Regions from separate parts of the Homo sapiens genome. Here all the other regions are linked to region 5. The links are contacts of gene promoters, found by promoter capture Hi-C in blood cells and fetal thymus (Javierre and others, 2016). All regions are on one chromosome and are shown on one strand. The core of a region is centred on a gene start or on the middle of the fragment in contact, and the rest is flanking DNA. Distances in the headings are between cores, read along the strand shown. Region 1 overlaps LINC00114 (long intergenic non-protein coding RNA 114). Region 2 overlaps LINC00114 (long intergenic non-protein coding RNA 114). Region 3 holds the start of ERG (ETS transcription factor ERG). Region 4 overlaps ETS2 (ETS proto-oncogene 2, transcription factor). Region 5 holds the start of LCA5L (lebercilin LCA5 like). Region 6 has its middle 4.8 kb from the start of LINC00114. Region 7 has its middle 50 kb from the start of LINC00114.

What was found. The method cuts DNA at HindIII sites, captures the fragments that hold promoters and counts their contacts. A CHiCAGO score of 5 or more calls a contact.
Region 1: a fragment that was not itself captured here is called in contact with the fragment with the promoter of LCA5L in region 5 in 5 of 17 cell types (non-activated CD4 T cells, naive CD4 T cells, total CD8 T cells and 2 more); the score reaches 7.4 in non-activated CD4 T cells.
Region 2: a fragment that was not itself captured here is called in contact with the fragment with the promoter of LCA5L in region 5 in 2 of 17 cell types (naive CD4 T cells and total CD8 T cells); the score reaches 7.2 in naive CD4 T cells.
Region 3: a fragment that was not itself captured here is called in contact with the fragment with the promoter of LCA5L in region 5 in 1 of 17 cell types (fetal thymus); the score reaches 5.5 in fetal thymus.
Region 4: a contact is called between a fragment that was not itself captured here and the fragment with the promoter of LCA5L in region 5, in 3 of 17 cell types (naive CD8 T cells, total CD8 T cells and activated CD4 T cells). The highest score is 5.9, in naive CD8 T cells.
Region 6: a contact is called between a fragment that was not itself captured here and the fragment with the promoter of LCA5L in region 5, in 2 of 17 cell types (total CD8 T cells and non-activated CD4 T cells). The highest score is 8.1, in total CD8 T cells.
Region 7: a fragment that was not itself captured here is called in contact with the fragment with the promoter of LCA5L in region 5 in 1 of 17 cell types (naive CD4 T cells); the score reaches 5.0 in naive CD4 T cells.

What each region holds. Positions count from the first base shown.
Region 1 is chr21:38,759,802-38,763,171 of GRCh38, forward strand. All of the region lies in intron 1 of LINC00114 (long intergenic non-protein coding RNA 114), which reads right to left. Among named protein-coding and RNA genes, the nearest start is that of LINC00114, 12 kb to the right of the region's middle. The HindIII fragment of the contact is 1,211 bases long and covers 683-1,893 here.
Region 2 is chr21:38,740,756-38,744,364 of GRCh38, forward strand. It overlaps LINC00114 (long intergenic non-protein coding RNA 114), which reads right to left. Exons shown (of 7, transcript NR_027065.2): 4 at 566-617; 5 at 129-313. Among named protein-coding and RNA genes, the nearest start is that of LINC00114, 31 kb to the right of the region's middle. The HindIII fragment of the contact is 6,104 bases long and covers 1-3,609 here.
Region 3 is chr21:38,496,817-38,500,440 of GRCh38, forward strand. It overlaps ERG (ETS transcription factor ERG), which reads right to left and starts at 1,661. Exons shown (of 10, transcript NM_182918.4): 1 at 1,547-1,661. The coding sequence starts at 1,564. The HindIII fragment of the contact is 7,853 bases long and covers 1-3,624 here.
Region 4 is chr21:38,809,204-38,812,489 of GRCh38, forward strand. ETS2 (ETS proto-oncogene 2, transcription factor) reads left to right here. Exons shown (of 10, transcript NM_005239.6): 2 at 832-903. The coding sequence starts at 832. Among named protein-coding and RNA genes, the nearest start is that of ETS2, 4.9 kb to the left of the region's middle. RefSeq lists an enhancer at 1,710-2,909. The HindIII fragment of the contact is 6,932 bases long and covers 1-3,286 here.
Region 5 is chr21:39,444,160-39,447,542 of GRCh38, forward strand. It overlaps LCA5L (lebercilin LCA5 like), which reads right to left and starts at 1,619. Exons shown (of 11, transcript NM_152505.4): 1 at 1,566-1,619; 2 at 1-42. All of the region lies in intron 8 of GET1-SH3BGR (GET1-SH3BGR readthrough), which reads left to right. It overlaps MIR6508 (microRNA 6508), which reads left to right and starts at 2,851; the gene lies at 2,851-2,910. It also overlaps a transcript of SH3BGR not described here. RefSeq lists a silencer at 1,530-1,789. The HindIII fragment of the contact is 3,319 bases long and covers 1-2,713 here.
Region 6 is chr21:38,776,595-38,779,860 of GRCh38, forward strand. No RefSeq gene overlaps it. Among named protein-coding and RNA genes, the nearest start is that of LINC00114, 4.8 kb to the left of the region's middle. The HindIII fragment of the contact is 978 bases long and covers 1,084-2,061 here.
Region 7 is chr21:38,722,120-38,725,572 of GRCh38, forward strand. No RefSeq gene overlaps it. Among named protein-coding and RNA genes, the nearest start is that of LINC00114, 50 kb to the right of the region's middle. The HindIII fragment of the contact is 3,600 bases long and covers 397-3,453 here.

The DNA of each region.
Region 1 (3,370 bases), core at 38-2,537, 680 kb before region 5:
TTCTGAAAAAAGGAGCCCCTTCCAGGGCTCACAACAAAATGTCAAGTTTGGCAAAAGATAAAAATAGAAGTCTTTGTTTCACACTTGCAAAAAGGCTCAAACTTTCACGTGTGCTTCTGTTTATATTAAATAAAAAGCCCATTTTTCTTGGGATAAAAGCATCTTAAGAAGAGTTGTAGGGAGAAGAGACTAGGTCCTTTCTTAACCGGAATTCAACTGATTAGACCCTGGCCAGACTCTCCAGTCAGACCCAGAAAGAGAAAACAGTGCCAATCCGAATGATTCAGCTCAATCCGTTCAAAACAACAAATCATGAAATGGCATCATGGACAGGCATGTTACGATAAGACTCTGCTAACGTGGCTTTTGCTGCAAAGTGGGAAATGGTTCTGGGAACTTACAGCTTTAATAAGATCAAACAATGCATCAAATGGAGGTCTGAGTTGGAGATCTGGGCTTCGACCTGCAGAAATAAGAATTGAGGCCTGTTGGGTGCTTCGCTGCTGGCAGTGCTCTCTCACGTGCCCTTTCCAGCTGGCTCTCACCTGATTCTCAGACACCTCTGAGAGCTAGGTGGTGTTCTCGTGTACATGTTAGAGATGAGGAAACCCAATCTCTGACAGCTGTCTATCCACCTGTTTGGAAGGGGCTGAACTGTGTTCCCCCCAAGCTCATCTGTTGAAGCTTTAACCCCCAGTACTTCAAAGCATGTCTTTATTCAGAGATAGTCTTTCAAGAGATAATTAAGATGCAGTGAAGTCATTAGCGTGGGCCCTAATCCGATCTGACTGGTGTCCTAACAGGAAGAGGAGATTAGAACACAGACATGACCATGTAAGGACACAGGGAGAAGGCGGCCGTCTGTAAGCCAAGGAGGGAGGCTCAGAAGGAACGAACCCTGCTCACACCTGGATCCCAGACTTCTAGCTTCCAGGACGGAGAAAATAAATGTTGTTGAAGCCGCCTACCCTATGGTACTTTATTATGGAAGCCCTAGCACACTAATACATTAAGGTAAGTTCTCTGAGGGCAGAATGGGGCTTTTGCTATTTCGATGAAAGTTCTTCGGATTCTGCAAAGCTGACCTCATATTCTGTGATGATTTTGGTAGAAGGCACACAGGCCACCTGCTCACTCCCTGCTCCTCTCATTCCTCCTCACTTTCCCTCCTATTTTCATCATCTTCCCTCTCCCTTTCTCCTTCTTTCACTCCAGGGGGATATGTTTGCCAACCATCTGCAAAGTGCCTACTGTGTTTCACGTAAACGCTTTTAATTTACGTAACTCATGCTATTTATCTCGTCATGATTTGACTCTTTTCCTTTTGGATAGTTTTCAAGATCAATCCTTGTTGCAAGATGAATATTTAACCTGTTACTTTTTTTTTTGGAGACAAGGTCTCGCTCTGTCGCTCAGGCAGGATTGCAGTGGCATGAACACAGCTCACTGCAGCCTCAAACTCCTGGGCTCAGGTGATCCTCCCACCTCAGCCTCGCGAGTAGCTGGGACTACAGGCATGCACCACCTCACACAGCTAATTTTATTTATTTTTCTAATAGAGATGGGGTCTTGCTATGTTGCCCAGGCTGGTCTTGAACTCCTGGCCTCAAGCAATTCTCCCACCTCAGTCTCCCAAAGAACTGGGATTACAGGTGTGGGCCACCACGCCTGGCCTAACCTGTAACTTCTAATTGACACCTCAACATTTCCGAAAATGCCTTTATTCTGCCTGTGCACTGGATTGATAGTTTCTATAGGTGTAGAAGCCCAGGTCGAAAACCACCTTCCTGCAGAAAGCCCCATCCTCTTGTCATTCCCAGAGCGGCTGCAGGGAAAGCTACAGCCATTCTGAGTCCTGAGTCTTCATGTGTTGCCTTTTTTCTTCTCCCTGGAAGCTTGTAAAATCTTCTTCCTGTCCTCACTGCTCTGAAATTGCACAGCAACGAGGCTTCGTGTAGGTCTATTTTTATCTCTTGTACTAGGCCCTTTAGACCTGCAAGCTGGTGTTATTCATTTCTGGAAAAGTTTCTTGAATTGTATTTTAAAGACTTACCAGCTTCTCTGTTCTCTCCTCCTGGAATTCATCTGGAAGCTGCATTTCCTGGTCTGGGCCTCCAATTTCATACATTCTCTCCCTTTTCTTCTCTCTTTTCACTTTGCTCTATTTTCTAATACAATTTTCCAGCCATGCCTTCTAATCCTTGTACTGGGTCTTTCATTTTGGCTATCATGTGACTTTCCCCAAGCTTGCCCAGTGCTTGTTATTTTCCAAATGTTGCTTTTTTATGGTCTCTCACTTTTTTTTTTTTTCTTTTGAGACAGAGTCTTGCTCTGTCGCCCAGGCTGGAGTGCAGTGGCGCGATCTCGCTCACTGCGAGCTCCGCCTCCCGGGTTCACGCCATTCTCCTGCCTCAGCCTCCTGAGTAGCTGGGACTACAGGCGCCCACCACCACGCCCGGCTAATTTTTTGTATTTTTAGTAGAGACGGGTTTCACCGTGTTAGCTAGGATGGTCTCGATCTCCTGTATGGTCTCTCATTCTTGATGCATAGAAGAAAACTCATCTCATCTCTCTAAAGGTGTTAACAGTAGGTGTAGTCTTGGTTTCCTCCAGGTTTCTTTTGACTTTTATTTTTACTGAGATACAGTTCACATAAGATGAAATTTGGCCTTCTTAAGGATATTCACACAGCTGTGCAACCACCACTATCATTTATCCCAGCCTATTTTTATCACCTTAATAAGAAGCTCCATACCTGTTAATATTCATCCCCCATCTCCACCTCTCCCCAGCCCCTGGGAAGCACTAATCCATTTTTCCATGTCTATAGATTTGTCTATTCTGGAAATTTCATATAAATGACATAATACAACTTCTGGTCTTTTTTTTTTTTTTTAAGATGGAATGTTGCTCTTGTTGCCCAGACTGGAGTACAGTGGCGTGGTCTCAGCTCACTGCAGCCTCCACCTCCTGGGTTCAAGCAATTCTCCTGCCTCAGCCTCCTGAGTAGCTGGGATTACAGGCATCCATTACCATGCCCGCCTAATTTTTTGTATTTTTAGTAGAGATGGGGTCTCACCATGTTGGCCAGGCTGGTCTCAAACTCCTGGCCTCAGGTGATCCGCCCGCCTCAGCCTCCCAAAGTGCTGGGATTACAGGCATGAGCCACTGCGCCTAGCCAATTTCTGGTCTTTTGTGTCTGGCCTTCTTCACTTAGTATAGTGTTTTCAAGGTTCATCCATGTTGTAGCCTGTGTCAGTACTTCATTCCTTTTTAAGGCTGAATAATGGTCCATGGTACGAAGAGACCACATGTTGCTTATTCATGCATCTCTGGACAGACGCCTGGGTTGTTTTCCACCTGTTGGCTG
Region 2 (3,609 bases), core at 868-3,367, 700 kb before region 5:
TATATAAAGTCTTTATATATCTGGTTTCCTCTCAATCTCTCTCTTTCTTTCCTTCTTTCTTTCTTTTCTTCTTTCCCATTTTCCTTCCTTCTCTCCTTCCTTGCTCCAGATTTAACATTAAAACTCACATGATGCCACAAGTTTGAGCACAACATGTCTAAGAACAAGTTCTTAGGAGATGCGCCTGGGCCCCAAGAAGCACAATGATGATGTGCTCCTGGGCCTGGAATCTCAAGGCTCAAGGAGCTCCATGGTCCTGACCCAGGTGATGAGGAGGAAAGCTCTCCACTCCATCAGGCCTCTAATTCCACACCTGGAAAAAAGAAAGACGAATTGGACCAGAGTCTCCCCAAGTCTCCTCTCGTTCTTAACTTGTAGTTCTAGAATAATGGAATGTCGGGAGCCCACGAAAGCTGCCTTCCTCCAACAAATGTGCACTGGGGTAGACCCCTCCTTCTTTCCACCCTGCTGGGTTGTACTCAGAAGCATCTCTGCTCTTGGCTCTCCTTAACCATGCTATGGCCAACCACACCCTCCCTGAAGGATGGTGGTATGAGTCGCTCACCATCAACAGCTCCCACCTTCCTCTTGGGTTCTTCAGCAGCTTCTTAAAGTCCCTGGCAAGAGGAGAGAGAACCTAATACTTATCCATCAATGTAATGGGTATATAGGAATGAGATGTAATCACCTTTATACATTCATAATTTAATCCTCCCAGCAGCCCAATGAAAGCCAATCAACCATTCATGGATCCAACAAATATTTCAGAGCCTATTTCTTGTGTGGTTGGCAGTGGGGCCTGCGTCTCCAATGGGGACACAGTAGAGCTGAACTGCCATCCAGGAGGTGACTCTCAATCAGGAAACAGGAAACAAGAGAGCACACAAATAAAAAGATAGCAGGAAGGGAGGTGCCCTTAAATTAAGTGAAGGGGCACCTTAAAGGGAAGGGGCATTAAGTAAGAGATCTGAGGGGTTGAGGAAACCAACATTGCAGGTGAGGGTACAGGCCAAGGACTCAGGGAGCCTGGTGATCTCAGGCTCAAAACCTTAGTGTGGCTGGAACTAAGGGGGAAGAAAAACATTACAACATCCCCAAGGTAGGCAGGGCCTCAGATGCTGGGCAGCAAATGTGGGTTTTATCCTGAGTACAAAGAGCAGTCATCTGCCAAGGAGCCCAGTGCTGCTTCCACTGCAAATATCTAGGTTCCAAGAGCCCCTCAACCCTTCTCCTCCCTGGACAAAGATCCACCCTCAAGCTACTTCTCATATCATTCGCTTGCATGTCGCTGACTCTCAAGCATGCTCCTGGTCATATCTGGGACTTGTTCTTCAAGTCTTATCTTTTATTGTAGCACAAAACCTTTTGGCCTCCGTTATGCAAATTCGAGATACCAGTCATTTGAGGAAGAAGTAGAGAAGGGAGGGAAAACAGGGTCATCTTCCCCAGCTGCCCTAACTCGTTTCTGCAAAAGACTAATGTGTTTCCAAACTCTCCAAGCACAAGAGCTCCCAAGCAATTACTTTAGGGAAGCCAATGATAAATTTACATTGAATTGCTGGGTTTATGAAACGATAGTGTTTCCACAAGTGTAGACTGCAGAAGTTTTGAGAGGTATCAAAACTTATTACATAAAGGTTTGGCAATATGGAGTTTATAGAAATTAAGTAGGTCTCTTGACTATAGGACTTCTCAGACCTTAATCGGCAACTGCAGGGCAGGAGTCTCTGGATCATCATGGCAGCTATGTTGGTCCCATGTCCCTGGACTCTGCTGGTCTGCTTTCTCGTCTCTATCTAGAGTACTATATAAGTACTAGGAAGGCAGAGATTGTATCTTAAATATTGCATGTCTTGAATGGTGTCTCAAGCATAGTGAGATCTCAATTATTAACAAATACTTATTAATAAATAAATGAAGGAGTCACCAGCAGGTGATTATTTTCCAAACTTCTCATATTTTTTTCATGGAACACATCTTTGGACTCTTGCTAAAGAACAGACCCCTTAGGAATGCTTCTAAGGAATGCTGCTTCAGGAAAAAATGACAACAAAACTATGATGTGTACAGGTTCTTTACCTAATATGGAAGAACCTAGAATTCATTATTATATTTGGTACTTTTTTCTTGTAGGGAACTTGTGTCCTCTAAAATTTATTTAAACTAAAAATGTCATCGTCATCATCAGTCAAGATAGCCATCTTGCTTTGTTTCTCTGTCTCTCTCTCTCTCATTCTCTCTCTCTGTCTCTCTCTCTCTCTCTCATTCTCTCTCTATCTCTCTCATTCTCTCTCTCTCTGTCTCTCTCTCTCACTCTCTCTCTGTCTCTCTCATTCTCTCTCTCTGTCTCTCTTTCTCATTCTCTCTCTCTCATTCTCTCTCTCTCTCATTCTCTCTCTCATTCTCTCTCTCTCTCATTCTCTCTCTCTCTTTCTCTCTCTCTCTCTCTCTGTCTCTCTCTGTCTCTCTCTCTGTCTCTCTCTGTCTCTGTCTCTCTCTCTGTCTCTCTGTCTCTCTCTGTCTCTGTCTCTCTCTCTGTCTGTCTCTGTCTCTCTCTCTGTCTGTCTCTGTCTCTCTCTCTCATTCTCTCATTCTCTGTCTCTTCCACACACACTCACCTACACAATGATGCATGGCCATAATTATTAAAAATTATTTTCAGATTAGAAAATTCAGAGAAGAAAACAACTATTGGGAATCCCACCAGTTAAAATGTTGGCATTTTTCTTTCTCCTGGTCTTCCTTCTTTGCTTTTTGTTCTGAAATCATGCTTTTTTTTTTTTTCTTGAGACGGAGTCTCACTGTGTCTCCCAGGCTGGAGTGCAGTGGCGCGATGTCGGCTCACCGCAACCTCTGCCTCCTGGGTTCAAGTGATTCTCCTGCCTCAGCCTCCTGAGTAGCTGGGATCACAGGTGCGTGCTACCACACCTGGCTAATTTTTGTGTTTTCGGTAGAGACGGGGTTTCACCATACTGGCTGGGCTGGTCTTGAACTCCTGACATCGTGATCCATCCTCCTCGTCCTCCCAAAGTGCTGAGATGACAGGCATGAGCCACCACGCCCAGCCCCAAATCACGCTTTTCATGCACACACTGGACATGCCATGGGAGGGATCTACCAGATACCTTCCTCCCTTCTCTCAGAAGCCCGGTGTGCTCTGCATGCCCGCAGCCCCATTCTTGGGCCAATCCAAAGCGGCTCCTTTTGCATGAGGAACTGACCAGAGGCACGCTGGAGCCACTGAGCCAAGCTGGCTTGAGCTTCCTGCATACCTGGGCATCTCAAAGGCTGGAAGCTGCTCTTGAGAGTGAATTTCCTATAAGCTAAAACCCTCCCACTGCAAAAAGATCCGTCTTTTCCCCACTACGGTAAAAAAAAACGTAATTCCTTTTCCTTCTTTCTTATTCTGCGTATAGTATAATGTCTTTAAAAGCTGTTGCAAAAGTAACTGCTCGATATGTCACTCCAGGACACTAATTGTTTAGTGGGAACACACATTTCCTGAATTCATTGCAGGGTTATAGGTCAGTTGATTTATTATTATTTGTGCAAAAGTAAATGGCTTTTGAAGTGAAGCTGCTTCCTGGCAACAGAGGACGATCCCAGCCC
Region 3 (3,624 bases), core at 1,125-3,624, 950 kb before region 5:
GTTATTTCAATGTCCTTTTTAATGCACTGAGTTTTTTGGGAAAAAAAACCACATAAGATCGTACCCAAGCTATTCAAGATTTACACAGAATATTTGATTTAACATGCATATGAATAAGGATGAAAATAAGAACAAAAAAATAACATTTTGGGTCACAAAATCAAGTAATTTCTATTCATGTAGCTATAAGTAGGGCACATTAACTCTCAATTTTATAATTCCTGTCTATAGGAGCCATATTTCAGCAGATTCCAATCCTTGAAGCCAAAGAAAGAAAAGTATAAGGTGAAAGTTCTTGGTACACAGATTTTTAATATATTATTGAACACACCTTGAGAAATAAAAGCTGAACTTCTCAAACACAGTTTCTATGGTACATATGAGTCAAATCTTCTAATACAAACATTTCAAATTATGAAAATACCAAACCAAAGAGTATTTTTGAAAATGGCTTGGCCCAATTCTGGGCAAACTTCCATTTTCTTATGCACTTTCCAACAAACTAAAAGCCTTATGAAAACACCACCAAATGCTTCTCACCTCCGTGCAGCAAAACTAAAGACATGCAACAAACACAATTTTCTTTTCCCTCCACTCAGCATCTGCTTTTGTTGCTGATTTTTCACATTTCTACAAATGTCACGAAGGCATGGTGGCCTTTAAAACAACTGAACGGACCCCCATTCAAGACTGCATGCCCCTTGACTTGTAGTCACCATTAAATTGGCTTCATTTCCAGGAATCAGGCCATATTTAGGATTGTACCTGTGCAGATTTACCTCCACATTAATCTCTACATGCTATCTACTAAAAACTTAGGCAAGGAAATGCATCAGACCAAACACCCCACAGCACAGAGAACCGACCGGCCATTGCTTTCCAATCTCCGCAAACCTAACCATTGCTGGAAGAAATCTTACTCACAGTGCACAGACAGTAGGTATTTTATTGAAGATAAACATATAGTGGAACAAACCAAATTACCCCCATTTGAGTTACGTGAGCACTCAGTTCTCAGCGTGGATGTCCCACAAATCAAGTCAACATTTGCGTCCCATTACCAGCAGCCACTTGCCGAGTATCTCTTCGCTTCCACTGGGACTGCCTGGCATCCCTGATGCTAAGGAGCCACTGAAGAGCCTCCAAATGTCTGACATTCACAAACGCATCTTTTGCTTTGACCCGACCCTTCAACCTCTCCGAGTCTGCTGCCTTTTCTCAGACACACATCCAGGCACCGTTAGGGATAGTTAGAGAATCTGAAAATTCAGAAGCGCTCCGAAAAGCCTTTCCAAAAGTAATCCACAGCACTCAACAGTGAATTTAGAAACCCCAATTTTTTTCTGAGTTTGAAGTTTTTAAGCCTTGCGGATGGTTGGAGTAGGAAAAAGGAAATTTACTAGGCAGTGCAAAGGAAATCTTGTTGTCCTCTATTGTGGCAGTGGGGGTGTTGCCCAACCCTAACTTATCTGCCTTGATAAAGGAAACCAAAGAAAAGAGTAACAAGAACAAGATTTTGTCAAATTAAAAGGAACCCTTTCCTTACCTTAATAGTGCTGGCCATAATGCGATCAAGTTTATTGATCGTTAATAAATGTTAATAATAATTATTGCTTCTCTCTGACCAGAAAGTAGTTTTGATGAGGTTGTTTAGAGCGGATGAGATTGTGCTAAGTCTGGGAAATGAAGTCAGCCAATGGCAGGAAGAGGTTTCTATTGGTCCTGGCTGTCCAGCCCAAAGAAACAGGATATTTGGGAGTGGAGAGATAAGAGACCCTGAAAACAATGTTGTTTTTCTTGATGATATGCAGCCAGGAGATTTTTTTTTTTTAATTAAAAAAAGAAAAGGCATCAATTGGGATGGGGACTGCCACAGCAGGTGTGACCGGTGTGCCGCCGTGTGACACACTGCACTGAGACCAAGGCAGGATGCAGATGTGATGGGACTCCGCATGGCTTCACACGGGCTGCAAGCACCTTGGAGCCAAGGCGTTGAGGGCACCCCACTGCCCTGGGTGTCAGCCCTTCGCAGCCCAATTCTTCGCAGAATTACTAGGACAGAGGACTTGAGCTCCTTTCTCCTAAAAGGAAACTTTGCAGGTGGAGTTTATTTCATGTTAATAGATGGCCATGTTCAGTAACAGCCATTGCCTGGCTGATTTTTAACAACCTATATTTATTCAACATTTCATATAAGTGTTCCAGAACAGTTTCATTTTCTCCTTCCAAATACCTGCACTTTTTATTTGCTCTACAACAAAGTTGTTGAAAACGCAAGGACTCTAGGCTTACAGTAAACACAAAAAATAAAGAGGAAAAATAAACCTTCCTAAGTCTTGTTTTCAAGTATTTATTAAAACCCAAATAACTGAAGTGACTACAAATGTCCCGGAATATCAGTGAGCTGGTCTCACTCTGACAGACATCCATGTTGCAGACAACAGATCCTCATAGAACTTTTGGCTACCCAGAGATGCCATGTGAGGGCCCCATTACATGTCTAAAATCCAAGCTATAAGTTCAGGGTCACAGGTCTGTTTTCTCCTCGAAGGAAGTACAGCGAATGCAGGCCTGAACATTCCTTAGAGGGTTTCAGGACTTTAATTACTCATTTTCAGGAAATTGCTTGGAAGAAACATTTTGCTTTGAATCTAGCTACAGGAACGCAGGACCCATAAAGAGGTGTGGTCTCAATAGGCGACCCCAAGAACACAATAGACTAAATCCTGAGTCATCTGACAATTCCTGGTTGCAGAGCTGGACGTTCAGTAAATGGATTTCACTCAGACTTTAGGCCGGCATGTGTCAGAGTTCTGTCCACCAGCCCAGGTCATTCTGGCTTTTATTATATACCTCTGATTTATCACCTCATGTTAGGACAAAAGAAGGAGGAGAAGGAGAAAGATAAGGGGGGAAAGGGAGAGGAAGGAGAGGAGGAGGAGGAGGGAGGGAAGAGGGCGAGAAAAAATGGAGAAGGAGAAAGGAAGGACAGAAGAGAGAGAGAAAGGAAGGAGGATGGGAGGAAGGAGGGAGGAAGGAAGGAGAAAGGGAGGGAGGGAGGGAAAGAAAGAAGGAAAAGAAAAGAAAGAGAGTATATTGTAAGAAAATCATTCTGTGGAAATCAGAACCTAAGTTCTCAGCACCTACATTATGAGGGGGTGTTGATTTCCGCTCTTTTCATCTCTGAACAATGAATAAGATGGCAGGCTGATTAAAATTCTGTTTCCCCGAAAATTTCAAAGTCCTGAGCTGTTTTATCTGGGCAGCTTCCACTAGAATTCTGGAGTGCGGAGGAGAAAAGCTCTCTCAGCTTCCCTGAGTGTCCTTGCTTTTTGTTCTCTCCTAAGAAGCATCAATGTAAAATGTTAACTGTGGCCTCCACAACACATGGCACCTGATTATGCCTTTACCAAACACCAGCTTTAAATAAGATGAACGCTTTGCTAATGAAATAGCCACGGAAGAAAATCCTGTGTGGTCCCGCCTCACCCACGCCTCGTGGTTGCTAATCCAGCCCTCAGTTGTTCCCTGCAGCAGGAAAGATCAGCATTTCTACTGGGACCTAATGCTTCAGTGATGATTTGGCCTTAACTCCCTGGTTCTTGCCTAATGCAAATCAAACTG
Region 4 (3,286 bases), core at 554-3,053, 630 kb before region 5:
GTCTTTGAGAGCTAGTGTGTATGTGTGGATTTGTACTAGCCACTGGTTGAGAGCTCTGTAGCCACACATGGCAAGTGGGTACCATATTGCTTAGCCCAGGCCTAGTAGAAGATTAAGACTCAGTCAGAGGAAGTAAGGCAGATCCGTGCTTGGAATCAGTTCCTCTTGAAGAAGTGCACAGCCAAGCAACACACAAAGCAGAAATATTTTGAGCTCTGTATTCAAAGCAGGAAGATCTGGGACCATGTAAGGGGGTTTGGTCTTCAGTTCTCCCTTTGATCCCTTCCCTGGGTGTGTGCTTTCTTACAGCCTGGAGAGTGGAAGGGAAGAGAGGGGGCTTCCTGGACTCCTTTCCTGTCTCTAGAAATGACCCCTGCAGCTGTCCTGAAGCTCTCAGGTTAAGCTGATTGTGTCCAGAGCAGACAGGAGGCGGCCCACTGCCCCACTGTACCCACCCAAGCACTCACCTAAGCTGGCCATGGAAATGTGAATGAAAAGCCTGACCCAGGCCCTCTTGCCCTGCTAACCCAGCAAGGAGGCTCTGACCAGCCAGCCAGCAAGTGACTTTTTCTGTGACATCTAAGTGGAATTCAGTGAGGAATCAGCATTATTATTCAATCACTGAAACAGCATATCCCATTGTGATACTGAGAAATGCTTTCCTCTTGAGACCTTTGGGAGGACAGCCATTTAAACAAGAATTCCCTGCATTCACTTTTGAATTACCTGTTAGCTGTAGAACTCAGCCAGGATCAAGTCTTGATGCCACCAATGATGAGTTTAGTGTACTTAATCTTTTGCCTCTTTGACTTTTTTTTTTTCTTTTTTAAGATGAATGATTTCGGAATCAAGAATATGGACCAGGTAGCCCCTGTGGCTAACAGTTACAGAGGGACACTCAAGGTGAGTGGGCAAGTCTTAATTTTTTTTTTTAATTGGAAAACTCGATCTCTAGGAGGAAAGAAAAAAAAGGCCTGGGTCCCAGAAAACTGGTTGTAGCCCTAGCTTCTTAATTTATTGGCCATGTGACTATAGACTATTTGCTTACTTGCTCTGGTCCTCAGTTTTCTGGTCTGCAGAATGGGTATCTTGATGTGTGTTGTTCTTCTCCTCCACGATATGAAACCAAAGGCCTTTATAGCTTGTTTTCTGAGGCTCCTTCCAGGTGAAAATCCTATAACTCCCAATAAAACAGCTGGAGAGGCTGTCTCTACTGCCTTTTCTGTCTACCCAGGAGTTTCCTTGGTTGATGGGAAGCTGTTTAAGAACTGAAATGAGAGAGAAGAGGCAGACAGACCCAACCGCTACAGCTCCTATCAGAAAGGGCAGCGCCCGTGGAATTGTAGGTAGCCTGTTACTGGCTCAGAGAACAAGCAGGCCTACTTATGTTAAACCAAAAACCAGATGAAAAATGAAAGCGCCCTCTCTGCTGCATAAACATTTTATGTAGCTTCTATCATCATTCCTTTTGGGAACATTCTTTAGTAGCACAAACTGGTAATCTCCCACTTGTCTTCTCCAAATATGACAGCAAGATTTGATTGTTTTCAGTATTATGTAGTAAACATGTTTCAGAAGCATGATTTTAAAATTGGCCTCCTCAAAGTTTAGCGTCTTGCATAATGATGATGTACGTCTCTGGCATATTACATTTTCCTTTGTATATCATTATTGAGGTTATTTGTCTGATATGACCCAAAGAGGCAAAACTCAGCACAGTCCTTTCTGCAGTATTCTAAAGGTCATCAAACTTCAGCCTAGTGAGTCTGCTTGTTTGATTTGGCCGGACATTTTAAGCATGGCAGAAGTGGTACAAGAAATCATGGTATTAAGTTGAAACCACACCCCTTAGAAAAATCCTTCTATTAATTCAAATAATTTGACGATGCTTATGCGGTTTCTGAAAAGAAGCAGTCGTTGCTGAAATTGATGTGTTGAAATAGGAAGCACAGATTTGTATTGTCTTTTGGCTTCCTGGCTTTAAAAAAAAAAAAAAAGAATTTACGGTTAGGAAAGGCATTTCTTAGTCACCTGGGCAATGCTTGTGGGAACTTTAAAAGTTTATTGGAGGTTTCACCAAAATTAGCTCTGCTCTAAAGTAGTTTGTAAATCCAGATGAGTAATTTGCACTTGCCTGATTGATCGGTTTTCCTCGTAGATCTCAGGCAGTTGGTCATCATTGACTTGGATTTTTTTGGGCTGGGCTCCAGCCTCTGCCTGCCCTCTTTTGTAATGCGTCATTCATTGTTCTGCATTTCTAAAAAGAAAGCGGGTAACCGATTTTATTTGTAAATGTGTTACACATTTTCTTATTGATGACTCAACAGATGGGTCATTGTATTACACATAACATGGGATTTCCAGCTTATGTTGGAAAAATATAGTCTTTCTTCACGTGTTCCTCAACAATTTAGGCGATGATGAATCCAGATATTATCGGTTACTTTCAAATGAGTCTTACATTAAAAGGTATTTCTTTCATAAATGTTATGTAAGATGCTCAGAAATCGAGTTAGTGTAAGGTTTTATCTTTCTGTGTGTCTCTTCTTTTCTGCAGATAGTTTAGTTTAACTTTAAACCTATTTCCTTTGGAAATCTTTCCCCTTAGTAGGTGATTTGGGTTTTTTTTGTTTTGTTTTATTTGTTTTTTCGTTTTTGGTTTTAAGCAACAGGGTCCTTCTCTGTTGCCCAGGCGGGAGTACAGTGGCTTGATCGTAGTTCACCGCAGACTTGAACTCCTGGGCTCAAGTGATCCTCTGGCCTCAACCTCATAAAGCACTGGGGTTACAGGCATAAGCCACCCCGCCTGGCCTGGGGGCGGGGAGGGGGTTCATTTTTAAGACACTTTACTTGTTATAAAATGAAACGTTAAGGAATTTTGTCATGTATTACTATTTTCCAAACCATTGGAATTGATGTGGAAAAGCATCTCTAGTTTCAGTTAAATTGTTTCATGGCAAACATTTCAAAATAAATGCTTCCAAAGATAAAGTAGTGTATTTCATTGTTTGATTTTTCAGTGTTTATCGGGTCATTTGCCTTTTAACTGCATTGTGCTCAGACGGCCTTGTCAAGGGTCATTTTTCTTACACACACAGCCTAGTTGAATTTTTCTCAATGTAACAGGAGGGTCAGGTGTTTGGTAAAGGGGTCTCTGAGGCTCCTCTCGACACCATTGTAAGATTCTGTTATTTTCAGATTTGTGTATTTAATATATTAACTTAAGTGGATTAGGCCACTAAAACAAATTCCCAGTCACTCCGACTCTGTGAGGTTACTTAAATAA
Region 5 (3,383 bases), core at 369-2,868:
GATCATTTGTCTGCATCTCAGTTTGCCTCTTTTGGTGCTTCTCTAAAAAATAAAAAAGGAAGAGCTTAAACTCCTACATGATTCCTGTCTTTGCGCTGGGAAGAAGGCTCTGGGTTCTTTTGTTCTTCAGGACAGTCCCTTGTAAAGCTCTTGCCATAGTTCTGTTCCAGGGGCACTGTCATATTTATACCTAACAAAGCTAAGGGGTGTCTTTACATTTTTAGCTTGTTAGCAGGATGCTTATATGGCCTTGCTGACCCGGTTTAAAAGTTGCAATTTGCAAAATACATACTGAAAATACTGCACTTTTACCTATGGAAGTTGTAATTTATATAAGGAAATTGTAATTTATATAATCCTTTAAAAAACTTACTCATACGAAATAACAGAGAACGGGGAAATACCATTAAGACTGTCATGCTCAAGTGGGGGAGGGGCAGACTCAGGGAAACCAATTAGGAAGCAAGTAAAATAATCCACGCACCAGATGATGGGGGCCTGGACCAAGGTGGTGACAGTGGCGGTTGAGAGAAATGGTAGAATTGTGAATCTATTCTGGGTGCATTTTGAAGGCAGTGCTGACAGACTGAAGGTGAGGAAGAGAAAAACAGGACTCAAACAGGATGCAAGACTCGGGCAACTGGAGGATGGAATTTCCAGCAACTATGATGGATTAAGATTGTGGGAGGACAGGCTTGGCTTGGGGAATTATTGAGCGCTATCTTGGACGAGCTGTGTTTGAGATGCCGTAGACATCCAAGTAGGGATGTGGCAGGCAGCTAAATGCAGGGATCTGGTGTTCAGGGGAGGGGCGAGGGCTGGGAATGCACACTTGGGGCTCACTGGAATTCAGATAGGCTCTGAGTACAGGCGACTGGATGAGTTCATCTAGGGATTGAGTGTAGACAGAAAAAAGGCTCAAGCTCACATTCAGCCGTGAAAACTGGTCTCTGAAAAAAGTTAACCGTTGGCTTAAGTGTGGCAACGAAACGTTAACACGCTGAGGGGAGGGTGTGGATAAAGAGCCCCGAGGCTGGGTGAGTGGGGGACAAACACAGACAGAGAAGACATTTCAAAAGATTTAGATTCCTACGAGATAGGGAGATGCCAGCGCTAAGGTTAGAAAGAAAAACTAATCCAAAGCAAAACAGCAAGTAAGCAGAGGCAAAATCGGAGGTCAGATAGAAGATTCAGATAGAAAAACCCCAAAGTTCCCTCGGTGGGGCGGCGGTGAGATCGGCCTCCGCCCCCTCGCCAGACCCAGGCGCGGCCCCGGGAGCGCTAGGTCACCTCGGCCCAGGCCGTCCCCCTGCCCAGCGGGCCTGAGAGTACGTGTGTCGCCGGGGCGCCCGGTCACTGCCGAGCCGGGGTAGCTGTTCCTTGGCAAACTGTGCCGCGAGGAGGAAACGGCGGGGCGCCAGCGAGGCAGGCAGGGGCGAGGACTGAGTGACCGGCGATACTGGAAGCCCAGAAAGAGCGTAGCAGGAGGGTCCGGAAGGGCCCAGAGCTGGGGCTGTAACAGGGTAACCGGCTGAGGGGGACGACGGCAGCAGCGGGGCCGTTACCTGCTCCGCGCTGTTCCCACGACTGCGCCAACGCCGCAGCGCCGGCGCGTCCCCATGGAAACCCGCGCGCGGGGCCTCCTGGGAAGCGCCGGCCTGCGGGGGCTGGGCGCGCGCATGCGCACTCGGGCAGCAGGAGCCGCGGCGGGGAGGGGCGTCTTGGGCCTGGAGGTCAGTGTGGCCTCGCGTTTGTCTTCGGTGACGGGAAGTGAGTTTCTTGTGTAGACGTCTGTAAACGATCCTCCTGCCGTCCCTGTTCGGCGCCCGGGACCCTGCCTTCCCGCGTGGCCGCACCGAGACGAGGGAGCCTGTCACGCGCTCTGGCGCTCTCCTGACCTCTTAAGGCTCTGTCAGTCTTAGGTAACTTGAGTCAGTAGGTGGGTGTAGACGCCTGGTCAATTCCTGGGAAGCACAGTTCCCCTATTAACCCCTTGTCATAAAGACGATTTTTTTTTTTTTTTTGTAAAACAAAATCTGATGACAAAACAATGCATGTTTGGCATAGAGAATTTAGAAATGTACAGGCAAGTCCAAAGCAAAAGTCAAAATCACCTAGATGATGGAGTTATAGATGTTTTTTAATGACAGCATAGGAATTTGGCATAATTTAGGAAGACTTACATTGTTTCCTTTTATTTATTTACTTTTTTTCCTGCATCAAAGCCATGTTGAATATCCTTGCAGATGAATCTTTGAGGTCACCCCTGACTGTTTCCTTAGGATAAATTCCTACAAGCGAGGTTGCAGGGCCAAAGCATATGCTCACTTTGAGGCTTTCTAAAGGTAGAGGGAAACTGCCTTCCAGTAAGTGTCCCGATACTTGGCCCGCATTGGAAATTCTCTTTTTTCTTAAAATTTTTTTGCCCATTTTATTGTCAAAAATTGGCATCTTTAATTGTATTCACTTCCTTTTTAGTAGGAAGAATAGACTTTTTCCCATATCTTGAGTGCCATTTGTCCTTATTGTGTGATTTGCATTTTCCTGTCTTTTGTCCATTTTAAAACTTGACATTCATCTTTGTAAAAATGGGTTTTGTAAGGACTTTTGATGCTTGAAAACTTGGCTTGTGATATACGTTGCAAATATTTCCTCAATTTGTCAGTTACCTTTAATTTTGTTTACAGTGTATTTTGGTATTTGTGTAGAGTCAAGCTTATTACATTTCTCTATAGTTTCTGCATTTGGTTTTTATATAAAAGGAGAAACGGGTGTTTTTTTTCAAATTGACTTTAATCCTACTTTGGTAGAAGTGGGTTAGGACAAGCTTTCTCTCCATATCACCATTTCTTCCTCTAGAAATGCATGACCCACCCTGAGTTTTGGTGGGCCATGCATTTCTAGAACTCCTTAGGTAGGGAATTATCCGTATAAGATGGGTGCCGGTTGTTTTTGCTGGTGGTGGTGGGCGGGGCAACATCTCCAGGTAGGCAAACATTAGACAAATGTCACTCTAGACTTGACATTATGGAAAGATGGGCTGATGCTTGGTGGGTGGTGGTGGCCCCATGACAGTAACGAGAGCGGAGTTTTGCCATTGCGGGAGCATCCAACCCTGGAGCTCATGACTGGAGGAATTGAAAGGTAGAGTTTCCTGAGAATGGTTTCCTCCTCTTTTCTACCAGCTTTTCCCAGTCTGTAGACATGATAAGTCACTGCAAATCTGCCCTTGAATCTTTCTTTGCTTTCGCTTTTGCTTTTTTTTTTTTTTTTTTTTGAGACGTATCACTCTATCGCTCAGGCTGGAATGCAGTGGCGCCATCCCAGCTCACCACAACCTCCGCTTCCTGGGTTCAGGTGATTCTCCTGCATCAGCCTCCTGA
Region 6 (3,266 bases), core at 323-2,822, 670 kb before region 5:
CCCTCCAAGGGTATCCAAGTCCTAATCCCTGAAACCTGTAAATATGTGGCCTTACATGGTCAAAGGGACTTTGCAGATGTGATTAAATGCAGGACCTCGAGGTGGGGAGATGATCCTAGATTATTCAGATGTTCCCAAAATGTAATCACAAGCATCTTTAGAAGGGAGAGACAAGTCTCAGACTCAAAGAGAGAGATGAGGTAATGAAAGCAGAGGTTGGGGAGAGAGAGTTCAAGATGCTATACTGCTTGAAGATGAAGGGGGGCCCTGAGCCAAAGGATGCAGGTACCTGTAGAAGCTGGGAAGGGCAAAGAAATGAATTCTCTGCTGGAGCCTCCAGAAGGCATGCAGCCTTGCAGATACCTTGCTTTTAGGAATTCTGACCTCTAAAATTGTAAGATCATATATTTGTGTTGTTTTAAACCACTATGCTTGTTGTCATTTGTTACCATGGCCAGAAGAAATGAATGCAGACAATTTCAAATTTGAAGCTGATGAGACTTTAACCTGCCAAAAAATCAGAGTCTTGGACTCAGAAGGTCTTTCAACAGAGTCATGAAATCAGTCATTCTTCATGTGTGTGTAGTGTGAGCTCTCCTTAAGTGCCACAAAACACATCCTTGCCCATATTGGTCCCCAAGAACCCCAGCGTGGATGACAGTGCATCACACAGATGAAACTGGTAGAGTATTTTCTGGATGAATGAGCAAATAAGCAGTAAATGCTGCAATCTCTCTCTGGTTGAAGTCCTCAATTCCTCTTGCCTGAACCATTTCAATATCCACCTCATAAGCCTCCAGGCTCCAATCTTGTCTCCATTCCAACCTGCTGCCAGGGTCTTCCTCTCATGCAAGTGGTTATGTACATTTCATCCAAATAAAATTCAAATTCCTTAAAATAGCATATAGCTCTTTTTGGCTTCCCTGGGCAACATCAGAAGAAGAATTGTCTTGGATCACATGTAAAATATATTAACACTAACAACGGCTGATGAGCTAAAAAAAAAATAGTCACACAAAAAAATATCATAATATCTTAAAAAAGTATTGGGCCACATGTGGTCTGTGTGCTGTGGGTTGGACAAGCTTGGTCGAAAGCCTTCTATGGCCTCAGTCTATCACTCGAGCAGAAACCACCAACACCCACATGCTTTCCTGTCTGCGTTGGCAGAACTTCACTATTAAGTTGCCCTCTCTAATATGACTTTACTATTCTAAGAAATCGTTGCCCAGGAAATAAAAGTTACTAATTGTATTGTTTCAGGAACTTCCCAGAAAAACTAATTTAAGTGATTATCAAACTACTCAACTCTTCAATAACTAGTATCAAGGATTATTTACTCTCCAATACACTTCTGAGAACCCTGCCTTAAAACCCTCACCTTGCTGTCTTCACCAATCCTGAACCATTATATCATGATCCTTAATCCTATTCAAACTTCTTTCCCCATTGAAAGACCTGCCAAACCCCCTAAACCTTACAAATAGCCCAACTTTGTCATACTCACAGAAAATACTATGCAGACTTTGTTGAGATAGTTGTGTTGCTTACCATGGGAAGCAGTAAACTCAGCTTTGCCTGACCAGCAGGTTGTTGGGGTGATGTTTTTGGGGAGTCAGTACTGGACACCTAAGTAAACTTGTTACTTCATGCTTCCCTCTTCTAGAAGGCAGAATAATGGCTGTCCAAAGATGTCCACATCTTAATCTTAGGAACCTGTAAATATATTTCCTTACATAGCAAGGGGGAATTAAGGTAGCAGATAGATTTAATGTTGCTAATCGGCTGACTTTGAAATGATGAGATCATTGATACAGCTTGAATATATGTCCCTGTCAAATCTCATGTTGAATTGTAATCCCCAGTGTTGGAAATGGGGCCTGGTGGGAGGTGATTGGGTCATGGGGGCGGATCCTTCATGGCTTGGTGCTGTTGTGATAATGAGTGAATTCTCAGGAGATCTGGTTTTTAAGTGTGTGGCACCTTCCCCCTACTTGCTCTCTCTTGCCCTCATTCTCACCATATGAGATGCCTGCTCCATCTTCTTCCACCCTGATTGGAAGCTTCCTGAGGCCTCCCCAGAAGCCAACCAGATACAGTCACTATGCTTCCTACATAGCCTGCAGAACCGTGAGCCAAATAAACCTCTTTTCTTTATAAATTACCCAGGCTTAGGTATTTCTTTAGAGCAATGCAAGAATGGCCTAATACAATTATCCTAGATTCTCCAGGTGGGAACCCATGTAAACACAAGGATCTTTACATGTGGAAGGGGGAAACTGAAAGAGTCAGTGTCAAATCGATGAGATGCAGGAAAGACTCAACCAACCGTTGCTGGCATTGAAGATGGAGGATGGGGCCACAAGCCAAGGAATGGGCAGCCTTAGAAGCTGAAAAAGGCAAGAAATGCATTTCTACCTGGAGCCTCCAGAAAGGAATGCAACCCTGCCAACACCTAGATTTTAGCCTGGCAAGATCTGTATTAGACCTCTGACCTCCAGAACTGTAAGATAATCTTGTGTTGTTTTAACCCAGCAAATGTCTGTTCATTTGTTTTGGCAGCAGTAGAAAACCAGCATATCTCTCCTTGCTGATGCTCCTTTCTCCATCTGAAATCTCAATCTGATCTCACTCTTCTGCCTGTTGAAATCCTGCCTACCCTTTCATTTCAATGGCAGATCCACCTCCTCCAAGATACACTTCCCTGAACACCCCTTTTCTGAATTCTATCAGCATCTGGTTTGTTCTCCTTCATTATTTATTATTTTTATTTTTTTCAGATGGAGTTTTGCTCTTGTTGCCCAGGCTGGAGTGCAATGGTGCGATATCGGCTCACTGCAATGTCTGCCTCCCAGGTTCAAGCGATTCTCCTGCCTCAGCCTCTCGAGTAGCTGGGATTACAGGCATGCACTACCATGCCCGGCTAATTTTGTATTTTTTTAGTAGAGACAGGGTTTCTCCATTTTGGTCAGGATAGACTCAAGCTCCTGACCCCAGGTGATCTGCCCACCTTGGCCTCCCAAAGTGCTGGGATTATAGGCGTGAGCCACCATGCCCAGCCTGTTCTCCTTTATTTTATACGATCACATTTACTAGGGTATGTAGCGTATATCTTCTATGTCTTATAAATAACTTTTGCACAGCTGAATGGTAAAGATTTGTCTATTCTTTCAATGTAACCATACCATTATCCCTTTAGCTAGCTAAATAACATCCATGGTGGGTACAGAAGTATCCTGACAGAAGTCATGTATTTGAGGAATGAA
Region 7 (3,453 bases), core at 947-3,446, 720 kb before region 5:
AAATGACCCATCACCCTATGGAGTCCACCGTCTGTTTTGTTTTTTTTTTTTCAGACGGGGTTTTACTGTTGCTGCCCAGGGTGGAATGCAATGGCGCAATCTCGGCTTACCACAGCCTCTGCCTCCCAGGTTCAAGCAATTCTCCTGCCTCAGCCTTCTGAGTAGCTGGGATTACAGGCATGCACCACCACACCTGGCTAATTTTGCTTCACGCCTATAATCCCAGCACTTTGGGAGGCCGAGACGAGTGGATCACCTGAGGTCGGGAGCCTGACCAACATGAAGAAACCCCGTCTACTAAAAATACAAAATTAGTCCACCATCTTTTATCATCTTGATTAGATAAACTGTGGGAAGCAGAGAGCAGTAGCCTGGGGAAAGGGGCTTGGGTAGACAAGCTTTGATGCGTGAGTTGTCTGCAGAAACACCAGAAGCATGAAAGAGTTTGGCATTGAGCTGCTGAGCTCAGGAGGTAGCTGCAGACACAGGGCTCCTGGCTGAGCCCTGGAGGTGGTGGGAACATGGGGCTGTGGCAGCCTCAGGGCCTGTGTCAGCCAGGTGCCCCTTGAGCAGGGGAGCAGAGTCACTGTGAGTGTTATGAGAAAAAAACTTTTATTGTAGAAATTAGACCTTGTATAGTTGTGGAGGGAGCTGAAGAAGCCAAAGTCTCAGGGGCAGGGGGTGCGAGGAGAGGATCCTTGGTGGCGATACCAGCCAGTCACTTTGAGAAGCCAAACACACCTTGCTGCCAAATGAGGCCACAGAGGTAGAGGGCAGGAAGGGGGTTGCCGCTGACACTGTGTCACCTCTTAGGGTCTACAGCCAAACACCTAGGAAGACCAGCAGTCAGCATCACGGGCTCGGCAGAAGAGAGGACAGAGGACGCCCGCTGAAAACCCCGAGCGACCGCTACATCTACCCACCACCACATCTGGCTGATCAAAAGGCCTCCAGACAGCAACGGCCACGGCTTCACGTCTGCTTTTAAAATCTCACTCAAATTTCCCTTTGGGCTAGCTCTAACTCAAAACCACACGGGGACCTTTCAGCTGTAGATTCTGAAGAAGTTTGTTATGGAAACATGGCCTCATTAGAATAATCGGGGAGTGGATAGGTTAGATTATTGATTGGAAATATTCATTCTTCACCCTCCCATCCTCCCATGAAGGATAGAGTGTATTTTCCTATTCCTTGACTTTAAGTTTGTCCATGTGCCTTGCCTCAGCCAGTGGAATGAGGCGATTGAGGATGTGCCAATTCTAAGCCTAGGATTAAGAGGCTTCATGGGTTTCCACTCAAATTATTTTGCTCTGCCATGGACATGAGACTAGACTACCAGGTTGGACTCTTGCTTCTAACAGGAGGATAAGAGACATAGGCAGAGTTGAACCAGTCCAGCTGAACCCACTATACATCAGCCAAATGCTGGCTGACCTCCAGATGTGTGAGCAAACCTACCAAAATCAGCAGACCCGGATTAATCAACCCAACCTAGATTAGCTGACCCCCTGCTGACTCCCAGATGCATGAATTACATAAATGCCTACTGTTGTATGCCACTGAGCTTGTGCGGTTGTGTCTTACACAGCATTACTATGGCCATAAGAAACCAGAACAGAAATTGGTACCAGAAGTGGAGTGCTACTCTAACAAAAACCCAAGATATGTTGAATTGGTTTGGGGACCAGTGGAAGGAAGTAGAGAAACCTAAAGAGGCTGAGAAGATGATGAGAGAAAATAACTTGAGGATGCTGAACAGTAATGATTCATGTTAAGGAGTCTGAAATAGAAAATGTACCCAATTAACTTATGAATCTAGGCATGGACATCTCCAGGCAGAATACTGAAAGTGTGGGTTGGTTGCTTTTGACTTCAAAAAGGAGATGAGCTCAGAAAAGAACTGGCCAGTTTGTAAGCAGAATTTGGAGGGAATATGAAGAATTTGGAACGTGCTGAGTTAGAAAATAAAACTGTTTCTCATTTCCAGCCTTTCCAGTCAGCAAAATATTTTCAAATTAGGATACAGCCTGGGAGCAATAATCAACCCCAGGGTGCTTCCAGCAAGGCCTGACCTCAGAGTAAAGACCAAATCAAACACACAGTTGCAAGATACATTGTTAAGAACTTCATAAGAATTAAGGTGGAGTCTAGTAATCCTTTCAATTGTTCAAAAAGATTTTTAGAAAACTTAAGGGTGGGATGTGAGAGCAGTCTGATACACCACCTATAATACCAGTAAGCACATCGAGAAAGGAATATTTTTAAATGAATTACGGATATGGTTTTTGGTACATAGACTAGACGGAAACCAAATATATATAAAATACACAAATTTTTCTGAGAGAGCCAGAAACTGTTCCAAATATAAAAGGATCCCTGGGCCCCTGTATTTGAGTTCTCCAGAACTCTGAATAGTTCGATAGATGGATAGATAGATAGATAGATAGATAGATAGATAGATAGATAGATAGACAGACAGACAGACAGACAGACAGACAGCTAGCTAGCTATGGGGGATGGAGAAGGATTGATTTTAAGGAATTGGATCATATAATTGTAGAAGTTGGCAAGTCCAAAATCTGAGTTCTCCAGAACTCTGAAGAGTTCAGATAGATAGATAGATAGATAGATAGATAGATAGACAGATAGATAGATAGATGATAGAGAGAGAGAGAGATGATAGATATGGAGGGATGGAGAAGGATTGATTTTAAGGAATTTTAAGGAATTGGATCATATAATTGTGGAAGCTGGCAAGTCCAAAATCTGTAGGGAAGGTCAGCAGGCTTGTGACCCAGGGAAGAGTCAGTGTTGCAGCTCTAGTCCAAAGGCAATTTACAGACAGAATTTTCTCTTCTCCAGAGGAAATAGTCTTTTATCAGCCTTCAGCTGATTGGATGAGGCCCACCCACATTATAGAGGGTCATCTGCATTACTCAAAATCTACTGGTTTAAATATCATTCCCGTCCAAAAATTGACCAAATATCTGGATTCCATGGTCTAGCTAACTTAACACACAAAAGTAACCATCACAGTCCCAACGTTCTTCAAAATGAAAGCCAACTGGGAAAGTTTCTGGGCCACCAATAGAGCACATTTTCTGAAATCTTTTTCAGAAGTGCCCCAGGAGATGATACAAAAGGGAGAGGAACTCAGAGAACAGAGCCAAGACTTATGCCAAACAACAGAATGAGGAACTAGACTCAGTGACCTGAACCTGGGGCTAATCAGAGAACACTCAACGTCATCAATGCAGGGGAGCCTGGCAACATTTGCCAAGTGAGATTTCAAAATTGCTATGGACCAGTGACTAATATGTGCCTCCCATTCTTCTCCCTTTTACCTAGGTGTGCTTACTATAAGTATCCTGTCCTCATTTTACTATATTATTCTGAATGTGTGTGTACAGGAGAGAAATCAATGTGTTCTTTTACTTCGAAAGGAGTGAAGAG